Regions from separate parts of the Homo sapiens genome. Here regions 1, 2 and 4 are each linked to region 3. Evidence: promoter capture Hi-C in human tissues and cell types (Jung and others, 2019). All regions are on one chromosome and are shown on one strand. Each heading gives the region's core, a stretch centred on a gene start or on the middle of the fragment in contact. The rest is flanking DNA. Distances are from core to core; before and after follow the strand shown. Region 1 holds the start of SCAF1 (SR-related CTD associated factor 1). Region 2 holds the start of KCNJ14 (potassium inwardly rectifying channel subfamily J member 14). Region 3 holds the start of LIN7B (lin-7 cell polarity scaffold B). Region 4 holds the start of TSKS (testis specific serine kinase substrate).

Evidence for each region. The method cuts DNA at HindIII sites, captures the fragments that hold promoters and counts their contacts. A contact is called where the count stands out against the background at its distance.
Region 1: the fragment with the promoter of SCAF1 here is called in contact with the fragment with the promoter of LIN7B in region 3 in 1 of the 25 tissues and cell types used here (dorsolateral prefrontal cortex).
Region 2: the fragment with the promoter of KCNJ14 here is called in contact with the fragment with the promoter of LIN7B in region 3 in 1 of the 25 tissues and cell types used here (stomach).
Region 4: a contact is called between the fragment with the promoter of TSKS here and the fragment with the promoter of LIN7B in region 3, in 1 of the 25 tissues and cell types used here (liver).

The regions. Positions count from the first base shown.
Region 1 is chr19:49,640,802-49,643,501 of GRCh38, forward strand. SCAF1 (SR-related CTD associated factor 1) reads left to right here and starts at 1,408. Exons shown (of 11, transcript NM_021228.3): 1 at 1,408-1,441. RefSeq lists enhancers at 1-528, 529-1,198, 739-838, 949-1,298 and a silencer at 1,329-1,618. The HindIII fragment of the contact is 1,761 bases long and covers 1,354-2,700 here.
Region 2 is chr19:48,454,241-48,456,940 of GRCh38, forward strand. It overlaps KCNJ14 (potassium inwardly rectifying channel subfamily J member 14), which reads left to right and starts at 1,334. Exons shown (of 3, transcript NM_013348.4): 1 at 1,334-1,618. It overlaps GRWD1 (glutamate rich WD repeat containing 1), which reads left to right. Exons shown (of 7, transcript NM_031485.4): 7 at 1-2,700. The HindIII fragment of the contact is 6,064 bases long and covers 1,097-2,700 here.
Region 3 is chr19:49,113,095-49,115,794 of GRCh38, forward strand. It overlaps LIN7B (lin-7 cell polarity scaffold B), which reads left to right and starts at 1,276. Exons shown (of 6, transcript NM_022165.3): 1 at 1,276-1,347; 2 at 1,755-1,873; 3 at 2,166-2,237. The coding sequence starts at 1,311. RefSeq lists a silencer at 1,096-1,675. The HindIII fragment of the contact is 18,984 bases long and covers 1-2,700 here.
Region 4 is chr19:49,762,056-49,764,755 of GRCh38, forward strand. TSKS (testis specific serine kinase substrate) reads right to left here and starts at 1,251. Exons shown (of 11, transcript NM_021733.2): 1 at 1,023-1,251; 2 at 1-177. The coding sequence starts at 1,192. It also overlaps the pseudogene RNU6-841P. RefSeq lists an enhancer at 1-4. The HindIII fragment of the contact is 39,317 bases long and covers 1-2,700 here.

The sequences.
Region 1 (2,700 bases), core at 158-2,657, 530 kb after region 3:
CCTAATCCATGAGCCAGCTCGCCCAAGTAGGGATGCCTGGGTCATGAAGAGCCTGGGGCCAGGATTTCTGGGTCTTGAAGGAGAAGGAAGCAGAGGGCCCAGACTCCTGGGTCCTTAGGAGAAAATGGGGCTGGAGATGTGGACTCCTGGGTCCTGGGGAGGAGGGTGTCAGGGAGGAAGGTAGACAGGTTCCTTCGTACTAGGTTCGGTAAAGGAGGGAGCCGGGGGCCTGGACTCTTAGGTCCAGGAATTGGAGAGGCTGGGGACCCAGGATTCTGGATCCGAGCGAGGGCACTGGCTTGGGGGGACCCGAATTCGTATGTGAGAGCTTGAGACCAGGACTAGTCTGGGAGACCGACTCTTGGATCCGAGGAAGGAAGAATCAGACTCCTGAGTCGGAGGGAGGAGGGAAATAGGAGTCTGGACACTGCTCTGAGTGAGAGGATTCGGAATTCAGACTTCTCTGTACTGAACGAGGCGGCTATGGGGTCGGGCTTCTAGGTTCTAAGTTTATTTTTATTTGTTTATTTTTGAGACGGAGTTTCCGTCTTGTAGCCCATGCTGGAGTGCAATGGCGCGATCTTGGCCCACTGCAACCTCCGCTTCCCGGGTTCAAGCGATTCTCCTACCTCAGCCTCCCGAGTAGCTGGGATTACAGGCGTTAGCCACCACGCCAGGCTAATTTTTGTATTTTTAGTAGAGACTGGGTTTCACCATGTTGGTCAGGCTGGTCTTGAACTCCTGATATCAGATGATCCGCCTGCTTCGGCCTCCCAAAGTGCTGGGATTACAGACGTGAGCCACCGCGCCTGGCCTATTTTTATTTTTTTAGAGGCGGGGTCTCCCTATATTGCCTAGGCTGGCTTCTAACTTCTAGGCTCAAGCCATCCTTCCGCCTCAGTCTCCCGAGTGGGACTACGGTGTGCGCCACTGCATCCCGTCTGGTTCTAAATTTAGGGGGGCCTAGAGGATCTGGATTCTGAGAGCCCCAGAATGTGGGCAGCACAACATCCAGCAAGTCGTGCTCACTCCGCCGGACTACAATTCCCTTGCGTCTGTTCTGCCTGGCGCCTCTTACGTCACCTCCTGTTCCGCCACCCTTTCCGCGCGCGCGCAGGGCACTGTGGGGCGTCATCGCGGGCTACCGCGGCCCCGCCCACTTCACCTCTCACCCCATTAGCTGTCCCCGCGCGACAGAGGCGGTGCGCGGACTACGCCTCCCGGCGTGCATCGCGCGGACCCCGCCCCATGTGTCCCATTGGCTTCTGGGAAACCGAGTGCGGTTGCCTTCCCGCCGGCCTTCACGTCGCCGTGCTCGGTACTTGAAATCCCGGCAAGCTCGGCGGCGCTTTAGCTCCGCCTCTCTCCTCCTTTGCTCACGAACCCCGCCCCAGCCCGCCCCGCCCCGCGCCGGGGCCGGAGCCGCAGCCCGAGCGGCGGGGTAAGATGGCGGCGGCAGTCCGGGCCGCGGGGCTCGGGCCTATTGGGGTGGGCGGGGCGGAGTTGGGTCGCTAGTTGTCCCGGGGTCCTCCCCACAAGCCACGGGTCCTAGAGGGCTTCTCGGGGCGGTCTCGGGCCCGGCAGCTGCGGCGAAACCTGGCGCCGAGAGGGGGGCCTTCTCAGGGCCCCGGGACGCATCCGTGGGTTCCTGGGGGCGTCTATGGGGCGTCTCCGAGAGGACTTGGGGCGTCTCTGGGCCTAGACCGAGCCTAAGGCCTGCCCTCCATCACACAGCTGGCCTGGATCGTGTCTGTAGACACTGTAGATTGTCTTTTTGGGCTGACCGGAGGCTAGGGTCTGGTTAGAGGGTTCTGGGGCCATCTTGAGATCTTGAGATATGTCCCAGGGGTGAAGGAGGGTCTGCAAGACCTGAAGAGTATCTTCAGAGCCATCTAGAGGCCTGGGGTATGTCTTTTAGGGCTGGAAAGTGTCTGCATGGGCTGGCCTGAGGATGCAACTGGTCTGCATAAGTCTGGGGCCATTTATCAGGCCTAGAAGGAGTGTTCAAGGGCTAAGAAGTCATTTAGGGCCCCCTAGGGGGTTGGGTTATGCCCACCAGGGAAGGGCGCCAAATATTGAGATGTACTGAGGGTCTGGGGTCTCCAAGGTATGGGTAGTGTCTAATAATGGGTGACAGGAGGCTGGGGGCAGTTAGAAGGACCTGGAACCATCTAGATGGCTTTAATGTGACTGCAGGAATGCAGTTTTGATGCCTGGAGCAAATTCGAATGCCTTTGGGGTCAGAGCAGCTTGTGGCGAATAATAATACGGAAAGAGAATGAGGAAATTTTGCCCAGCTTAGATATACTTGCCCTTCAGACAGTAATTCAAATGAAAAATGTTTTAAGATTCTGCATTACCCTGGGGGTTATTGAGAGAGTTAGAATTAATCTACATTAGTCTGGAAGAGTCTGGAGGGTCATCTAGACCCACTATTACAGTGCTTTTCAAGGGGAAACCTGGGCCATGTTGACCGTGATCTGCATTAAGATACATTTTTTCATTGAGACCTGGTACAGACAGTCATAATGTATTTAACATTATATAACATAATGTATTAACATTAACTCACCTTCCACGAATTGACATTTCCACTTACTACTTGTGCTGTGCTGTGAAGAACTATTTTGTTCTATTTACTTTTTAAAACAAGCTATTTGTGAAGCACTAAACTGGTATATGACCCTGTTGTTGGGGAAA
Region 2 (2,700 bases), core at 84-2,583, 660 kb before region 3:
GTGTCCCCCTCTTTCAGAGTCTCCCGTCCCCCACTGCCAGTCTCCCTGCCCCCTAGTCGCTGTCTCGCTCCTCCGCCGCTGTCTCCTGTCCAGCCTGCCTGGGCTGTGGCCCAGCCGCTCTGCCTGGCTGGCCTCCCTGGCTCCCCCTCTGCGGCTCTGAGCTAGCCCCACCCCCGGCCCCCCTCCATCCAGCCTCTGATCCATCTGTGGACTCCGAGGTCGGGTGCCCGTCACACGGCCCCTGGGACCAAGGACAGACTACAGCCCCTCAGCACCCACAGAGGCTTCCCCTCAGCCCTAGCCGAGGAGCCCCCAGCGGAGGGCATGGGGGTGGGCCGCCCCAACAGGTACGTGCCTCCATGCAAGGCACCGCTGAGCCATCCCCTCCTGCTCTGCTGCGTCGCCCCCATCCACCCCTGCCCCAGCATCCCTGTCCTCAGCTTGTCCCCTTCAAGAAGGCCTTGTCTTCCCATCAGTGACAGGCTCAGCGCCAGGAGAATCCACCCCCAGGTTCAGTGCCTCCAACTCTCACCCCATCCCCATTTTATGCATTTTCTCACTGGCTTCCATCCTTTCAGAGAAACCCTCTCAGTCTGTCTGTCTCTGTCTCTGTCTCTCTCCCCCATCTCTGTCTCTCCCATCTCTCTCTGCCTCTCTCTGTCTTCACAATTTCATCTCCCCATGTCGCCATTTCTTAAAACATTTCTTTTCTCCTTTTCGTTTTCCCAATTGCCCTGTCCGCCTCTATCTTCTCTGTCCCCCTCCATCTAGGTCTCTGTCCCCCCCTCTCTCTGGGTCTCTGTCCCCCTCTGTCTCTGAGTCTCTATCCTCTCAAGGTCTCTGTTCCCCTCTCTCTGGGTCTCTGTCCTCTCTCAAGGTCTCTGTCCCTTTCTCTCTGGATCAATGTCCCTTTCCTGCTGCCCTCTCTGGGTCTCTGTCCCCCTCTCTCTCAGGGTCCCTGTCCTGCTTGGTCCCTGTACTTTTTCTTGGGGCACCCTCTCAACACCCCTCCTCCTGCCTATCTCTGCATCTCTTTGTCTTTCTGTAGTCTCTGCTTTCCAACCTGCTGTCCAGCCCCCACCAGTAGGTGGGGAGTGGTGGGGAACACCCCTGGTTTCGGAAGAGTGAGAGTGTTGATTTGGGAGGGTGAGGGTGGGGCCTGGGGGCGGGGCTTCTTGGCCTCAGATTAGACAGTGACTTTGACACGAAGTTGAAGCACCTTAAGCCCTGTATCTCCTTTATATGGAAACATTAAGCTGCTCTCGCAGGTCAGGTGGAGGATCCCTTTCCCTCCCGCCCTGCTTTTGCTAGGGGAGGGGGGTGCCCTGAGCCTGAGTCGCAGCCAGCCTGGGAGCTGGGCCATGTTGGCCGCAGATGGCCCCCTGGTGAAGGTTCCCGTTGGCTTTGGGAAGTAGACAACGGGTCTGCCTCACGGGGCTGAGGTGGGACTGGAGGATTTCGAGGGCAGAACTCTGGGAAGGAAAGAAAGGCTTAGGACCCAACCAGCATTCCCCCTGGCACTGCGGGGGCCTGGCCAGCTCATGGCGTTCCCTGAGCCTGTTCCCCAACTGTGAAAGGGGGTGATGATCTTCACCTCCCGGCATCCTGAGCGGCCAAGGTGAGCAGTGGGGTCTGAGAGTCCAGTGGGGGCTGTGGGCATGTCGGGAGCTCATCACGAGGCCTCGTACATACCAGGTGTGTTTGAAACCAGAGTGCTCTTGAGAAGACTGTGGTTTGTCACTCGGGCCGTGGCTCCCAGGAGGCCTGGGTGGGAGGCTAGCTTTTGCCACTCCTCTCCCCACTGGCTGAGAGACCTGCGACAAGGGACTAACCTCAGCCCCAGTTGGCTTTTCTGTGAAAAGCCAGGTCCCTTCATCAAAGGGCTTTGGTGAGAGATGGGCAAGTGGGGGTGAGAGGCCCAGGCTGGGGCCTGGGGAGCACAGGTCAGTGTCAGTGCCCACCTGCCCCCCCAGCCCACGGGGGTGGTTCCTGAGGGTGGAGTCAGTGCTGAGTGGGGATCCCCAGGCTGGGGAGGGCTGCAGGTGTAGATGCTGCATCCTGATGTTGACCTCCAGGCCGCCCCCTTGGGCAACGAGCCTATTTCCCCTTTTTGGGAGAACAGTCTCTAACATGCAGGGTTGTCAGGGGTGAGATAGAGTCAAGGTTGGGGTACACTGTGGGCACTGGACACAGCCAGGCTGGTCCCCTCACCTCAGCCTTGCCTCTGTCAAGTGGGCCTAATGAACCCTCGCGAATGGCCAGGCTGCCTGCGTGGTTGTGGGAAGCAGGTGCAGGGCTTTGGGAGACCCAGTTGGTGCCAAACTTGACATTGTCTCATGGTCTTCTTTCCAAATGGAGTGTGCCAGGCCCTGCCAAGAAGCCCCTGAGGATCCCCAGGTTCCAGCACAAATTATTTAACCCCTGGAATGGTTTGTCCTGATCCAGCCAGTTCCTGGGAAGTTCCCCACCACAGGGCCAAGCGTTTGGTAACGTTGCAGTGAACCCTGAAGGCAATGAGGGGTGCGGGTCCATGCCCAGCCCTTTCCTTTGGTCCACCCTGACAGGCTGCTGCGATTCCCTCCATTTCTTTTCTTCCTTTATTTTTTATTTTTAATTATTTATTTATTTTTTAGAGACAGGGTTTTGCTGTCTTCCCCAGGCTGGTTCTCAAACCCCTGGCCTCACGCATTCCTCCTGAGT
Region 3 (2,700 bases), core at 26-2,525:
GGAGAATTGCTTGCACCCGGGAGGCAGAGGTTGCAATGAGCCGAGATCACGCCACTGCACTCGAGACTGGGCAACAGAGGGAAGACTGTGTCTCAAAAACAAAATATCCAGTATCCCTCTTTCAGTGTAGACCATCTTAAAAATGGCACCAAAGCACCTTAATACTGTCTTCTCCTGCACCTCCCAATCCCCTTATATAGCCAAGCACCAAGGCTTGTCTAGACATTTCCCACATCTGCCCACCCATCTTCTGTGCTTTGGCCCTGGTGCTAGCTGCCACCTGGATGGCTGTGGTAGCCTCGTAAGTTGCCCCGCTGCTTCTCCTCTTGTTCTTGTCCAAACCAGTCTCCACAGTGGCTACAGTGATTTTTTTTTTTTCAATAGATACGAGGTCTCACTATATTGCCTATGCTGGTCTTGAACTCCTGGGCTCAAGTAGTCTTGCTGCAGCCTCCCAAAGCGCTAGGATTACAGGTGTGAGCCACCGTGCCCGGCCCCAGTGATCTTAAAATACAAATTTGAGGCCCAACCTGGGCGACAGAGCGAGGCTCCGTCTCAAAAATAATAATAATAATAATATAATAATAATACAAATTTGAGTGTCATATTTTTCTCTTAGGAGTTTGCATGAAGCCCCAAATCCTCAAGGCGCATATGCCAACGCAGGAGCCCAGGCATAAACTATCCTGCCGACCTTTTCACCTCATCATCAACCAATCCTAACTCTGCTTCCAGCCACGTGGGCTCTTTCTGGGTGGTGGGGGTGACCCAAGCTCCACCTCTTGTTCATCTTACCTCCCAGGACTGTATGTCAATGTCCCTCCTCTAGGATTTCCTTCGTTTTCTAGATCATCACCTCCCCACTCTCAGCTCTCATCACAGCCGTAGTTGGTCGTCTACCTCCCCTATAGACTGGAAGCTTCGTTCGGGCCGTGGGCTTGGCTGTCCTGCTCACCACGGTGTCCATGACTTGGGCTCAGATGTTTCACAAGAGTTTGTTGAATGAATGTGGGGAAAGGATGGACAGGGGATAGACGGGTGTGGAGGGCAGGCAGACACGGATCCTGAAAGGTACACACAGACCGAACCTGCAGTGGGAGGGGTCGCCAACAGGACCGACTGGCCGGGGCGGAGGGCAGGGCGCGGCTGGCGCGCGGCAGGTGGTCGGAGCAGTCGGGCGAGGGAGAGCTGGGCGCTCTCCAGGCTGCGCCTCCGCAGGGGGCGCCCGTGGCCCGGGGCGTGGCCTCGCGCAGCCCCGCCCTCCTCGCCGGCGCCAGGGCAGGCGGGCGGCTGGCAGCTGTGGCGCCGACATGGCTGCGCTGGTGGAGCCGCTGGGGCTGGAGCGGGGTAAGCGTGCGCCAGGGGGCCCTGCCCACCCGGGCCGCGGCCTACATACCCAGCCCCCGGTCCCCGCCCTTCCCGGGTCAGGCCAGTGCGGGTGGGCCAGCGGACCCGGAGGGGGTGGGCGGGGCGGGCGCCGGGGCCGGGCGGTCGCTAGGTGTGGGAGGCTCCCTGGGCGCGGGCCGGGACGCTGGGCGCCCGCCTTACAACCCGGCCTGTGGAGGGGTCCCGGGGCCGCAGGGCCGCTGGTGGCAGTCTCTCCTGCGCCACCCTGGACTCTGCGGGGTGTCCGACTAGGCTTCGGCCGTCCTCCCCGGACTGTGCGCTCGGCCTCACTCCGCCGCTCTCCTTGCTTCTCTGCGTCTCGGGGTCTCTGACACTCGGGGTTTCTGCGCCCCGCCCCCGCCCCGCAGACGTGTCCCGGGCGGTTGAGCTCCTCGAGCGGCTCCAGCGCAGCGGGGAGCTGCCGCCGCAGAAGCTGCAGGCCCTCCAGCGAGTTCTGCAGAGCCGCTTCTGCTCCGCTATCCGAGAGGTGAGGGGCGCGCGGCGCAGGGGCGCGAGCTGGTGGCCGTCGTCCTCCTCCTCCTCCTCCTGCTTGTCCCGAGCCCGGAGACTACGCCTCCCGGCAGCTCCCGAGGCGGCCCGCCTTGGGGTGCCAACGCTTCAGCTCAGGGGTTCTTCGGGAGTTGTAGTTTTCTCGGCCTTCTGTTGCGGGGGCGGGGCGGATCCTTGCGTGGTAGCGGGAGAGGGTCTAGAGGCCTGAACTCCTGCGTCTAGGGCTGGAGGAGCTGGCGACTCCCTGATGCCGCTGCCTCCTCACCCAGGTGTATGAGCAGCTTTATGACACGCTGGACATCACCGGCAGCGCCGAGATCCGAGCCCATGCCACAGCCAAGGTGGGCCCCGCACCCCATTGCTCCTGGTGTCTATTTAACTGCCTAGTCGAACTCAATATCTCCTTCATGCCAGTCATTTCTGTTTCCTCCCTCATGATTTTTGCTAAATCTATGTGCCACCTTACTATTAGTAAATAATCGCACATTTTTAACTTAAATGTCATACTAAGGCATCTTTAGCAACTGCAAATGGAAACAGTATGGCATGGTTGGTAGAAGATAACCTTCAACATCTGTACAGTGCAAACCAGGAAACTCATGGCGCTCTGACCTCTCACTGCACAATAGTTAGATGCTGCTACCTCTTGCTGCTGTCCGGAGGCTCAGATCTCCCTCCAGGCCTGGCTTTCCTCTGTTTAAAAGTAAGATTGAGGCCAGGCACGGTGGCTCACGCCTGTAATCCCAACACTTTGGGAGGCCGAGGCAGGTGGATCAGTTGAGGTCAGGAGTTCGAGACCAGCCT
Region 4 (2,700 bases), core at 1-2,500, 650 kb after region 3:
GCAGGGGGCCCAGCCAGTGTGAGTTGGCCGCTGAGGTCTTCCACTGTGGAGTCTGTCCCCGTGGAGTCAGTGGGCTCCATGGCGGCCAGGTTGAGCAGTGACACGTTGGTGCAGGCCGAGGACCGTTTGAGGTTCAGGCACCAGTGCATGGGCTGATGGGACATCTGGGGCTCCACCCTGCAGAGAAGAAACAGGCAGAAAAGTGGAGAAGCAGCCCCAGGGTGTCTGGGCCCTCCTGCCTTCCTTTCTCCATACCTCACCCCCTGTGACTCCACCCTCACTGTATATAAGTTTCTCCCTTCTCTGTCCCCGCTGCCTACTTTATTCTCCTTCCCTGTGCTGCCTACTTTCTTTCTTTTTTCTTTCTTTCTTTTTTTTTTTTTTTTGAGACAGAGTCTCACTCTGTTGCCCAGGCTGGAGTGCAGTGGCGCGATCTCAGCTCACTGCAACCTCCGACTGCGGGTCCCAGTTCAAGCAATTCTCCTGCCTCAGCCTCCTGAGTAGCTGGGGTTATAGGCATGTGCCATCACGCCCAGCTAATTTTAGTATTTTTAGTAGAGATGGCTTTTCACCATGTTGGCCAAGCTGGTTTTGAACTCCTGACCTCATGATCCACCTGCCTCGGCCTCCCAAAGTGCTGGGATTACAGGCGTGAGCCACCGTGCCCGACCACCACTGTCTACTTTCTTCTTCTCCTTCCCCGCTGCCTACTTTCTCCTCCCTTCTCTGCCACCTACTTTCTTCTTCATTCACTAGCCTCCCTTCTCCTTCTTCCCTCCCCACTGGCTTTTTCCTCTCTCCATCCATCCCCATTACCTTCTTCCTCCCTCCATCCATCCCCATTACCTTCTTCCTCTCTACCTCCCTGTGACTTGATGTCTCTTCACTGCTGCCCTCTTTCCTGCCCCCGACCTGCTGGCTTTTCCCCCTCCCCTTCCTCTAGCACCCACAGTCGGACTCCTGCTCTGTTGGAGGTAGTGCTGGGCATTAGAACCATCCCTGACAGTGTGCAACAAACCCACCCGTGGAACGACACGGCCTTCTTTTTCTTCGGGATCCCCTTGGCCCGGCTGGTCACCCTCCGGGGAGCCTCTGGGACTAGCTGGGAGCAGCTCTCCACCCCCGTGGGGGTGTCCCCGGCCTCATGGATCTCTTTGGACTGCCAGATCGTCTTCACCACCACGCTCGCCATGGTGTGGGGGTCTGGCTCCCAGGGAGGGGCTCCTTCCTCTGAGACTTCCTACCTACTGTGACCACAGACCCTCAGGATCCACTGTCCCCTCAGCCTGCCTCACAAAGGACCCAACCACTGGGCCCCAGTGAGTGGGGGGCACAGGGTAGGGAGAGATGCTGGCCCAGGTCATTCCCCTAGGGTTCTCAGTGGACTCCTCCTGTTCAGGATTCTAGTTACATGCCCAATGTGCCCCCCGTCTTCAGAGCTCCAGTGGATGGATTCATGCTAGCCTGTAACTTAACAATGGGTCGGCCCACGGATTCTTGGGAGAGGTCCAACTTCCCTCTCCCTGAGACTAAGCGTGGGGTCACACAGCCCTGTGCACTTGTTCTTGATTCTTCATGTAGCTTCCTGGATTTGACAATTGGCTGGGGTTTGAGAGACTGTGGTCGAAGAGGGCTGAGATCCAGACCCTGACCTGGAGGGTCTCATATTCTATGGGGCGTCGGGGTCGGGGGAAAGGCAATATACAGGTAGATCAACAAAAGAAAGCTAGGTGCGGTGGGCCTCGGGGTCAGGGTAGAAGGTGAGGGAGGAGAGGAAGGTAGAGAGTTGGGGCAGGACAGAGGGTGGTATCCCCCTCCCCCGTTTATTTATTTATTATTTTCTTTAATACTTTTTATTTTTTTTGAGACAGAGTCTCTCTCTGTCATGGAGGCTGGAGTTCAGTGGCGCGATCTCAGCTCATTGCAACCTCCACCTCCCGGGGTTCAACCGATTCTCCTGCCTCAGCCTCCCCAGTAGCTGGGACTACAGGCGCTGGCCACAATGTCCGGCTAATTTTTGTATTTTTAGTAGAGACGGGTTTCACCATGTTGGCCAAGTTGGTCTCAAACTCCCGACCTCAAATGGTCCACCCGCCTTAGCCTCCCAAAGTGTGGGATTACAGACATGAGCCACCATGCTCCGCTATAATTTTTTTTTTTTTTTTTTAGATGGAGTCTCGCTCTGACACCCAGGCTGGAGTGCAGTGGCGTGATCTTGGCTCATTGCAACCTCTACCTCCCAGTTTCAAGCGATTCTCCTGCCTCAGCCTCCTGAGTAGCTGGGACTACAGGTACCTGCCACCACACCCATCTAATTTTTTTTTTGTATTTTTAGTAGAGACAGGGTTTCACTGTGTTGGCTAGGCTAGTCTCCAACTCCTGACCTCGTGATCTGCCCACTTCAGCCTCCCAAAGCATTGGAATTACAGGTGTGAGCCACTGCGCCCCGCCCGCCCAAAGTATTTAAAAAATATATGGAACATGTCACAAATTTGCATGTGGTCTTTGCGCAGGGCCCATGCTAATCTTCTCTGTATCGTTCCAATGTTAATACATGTGCTGTCGAAGCGAGCACTGCCCTGCTATTTAGGGACAGACTTTTCCTGTTCTCTTCACACTTCTCAAAAAGACTAGTTCAAACATCACTGCTAATAGACATTTTAAATGCTGTTATCCCCAGGGAGAAAGTACTTCTTCCTG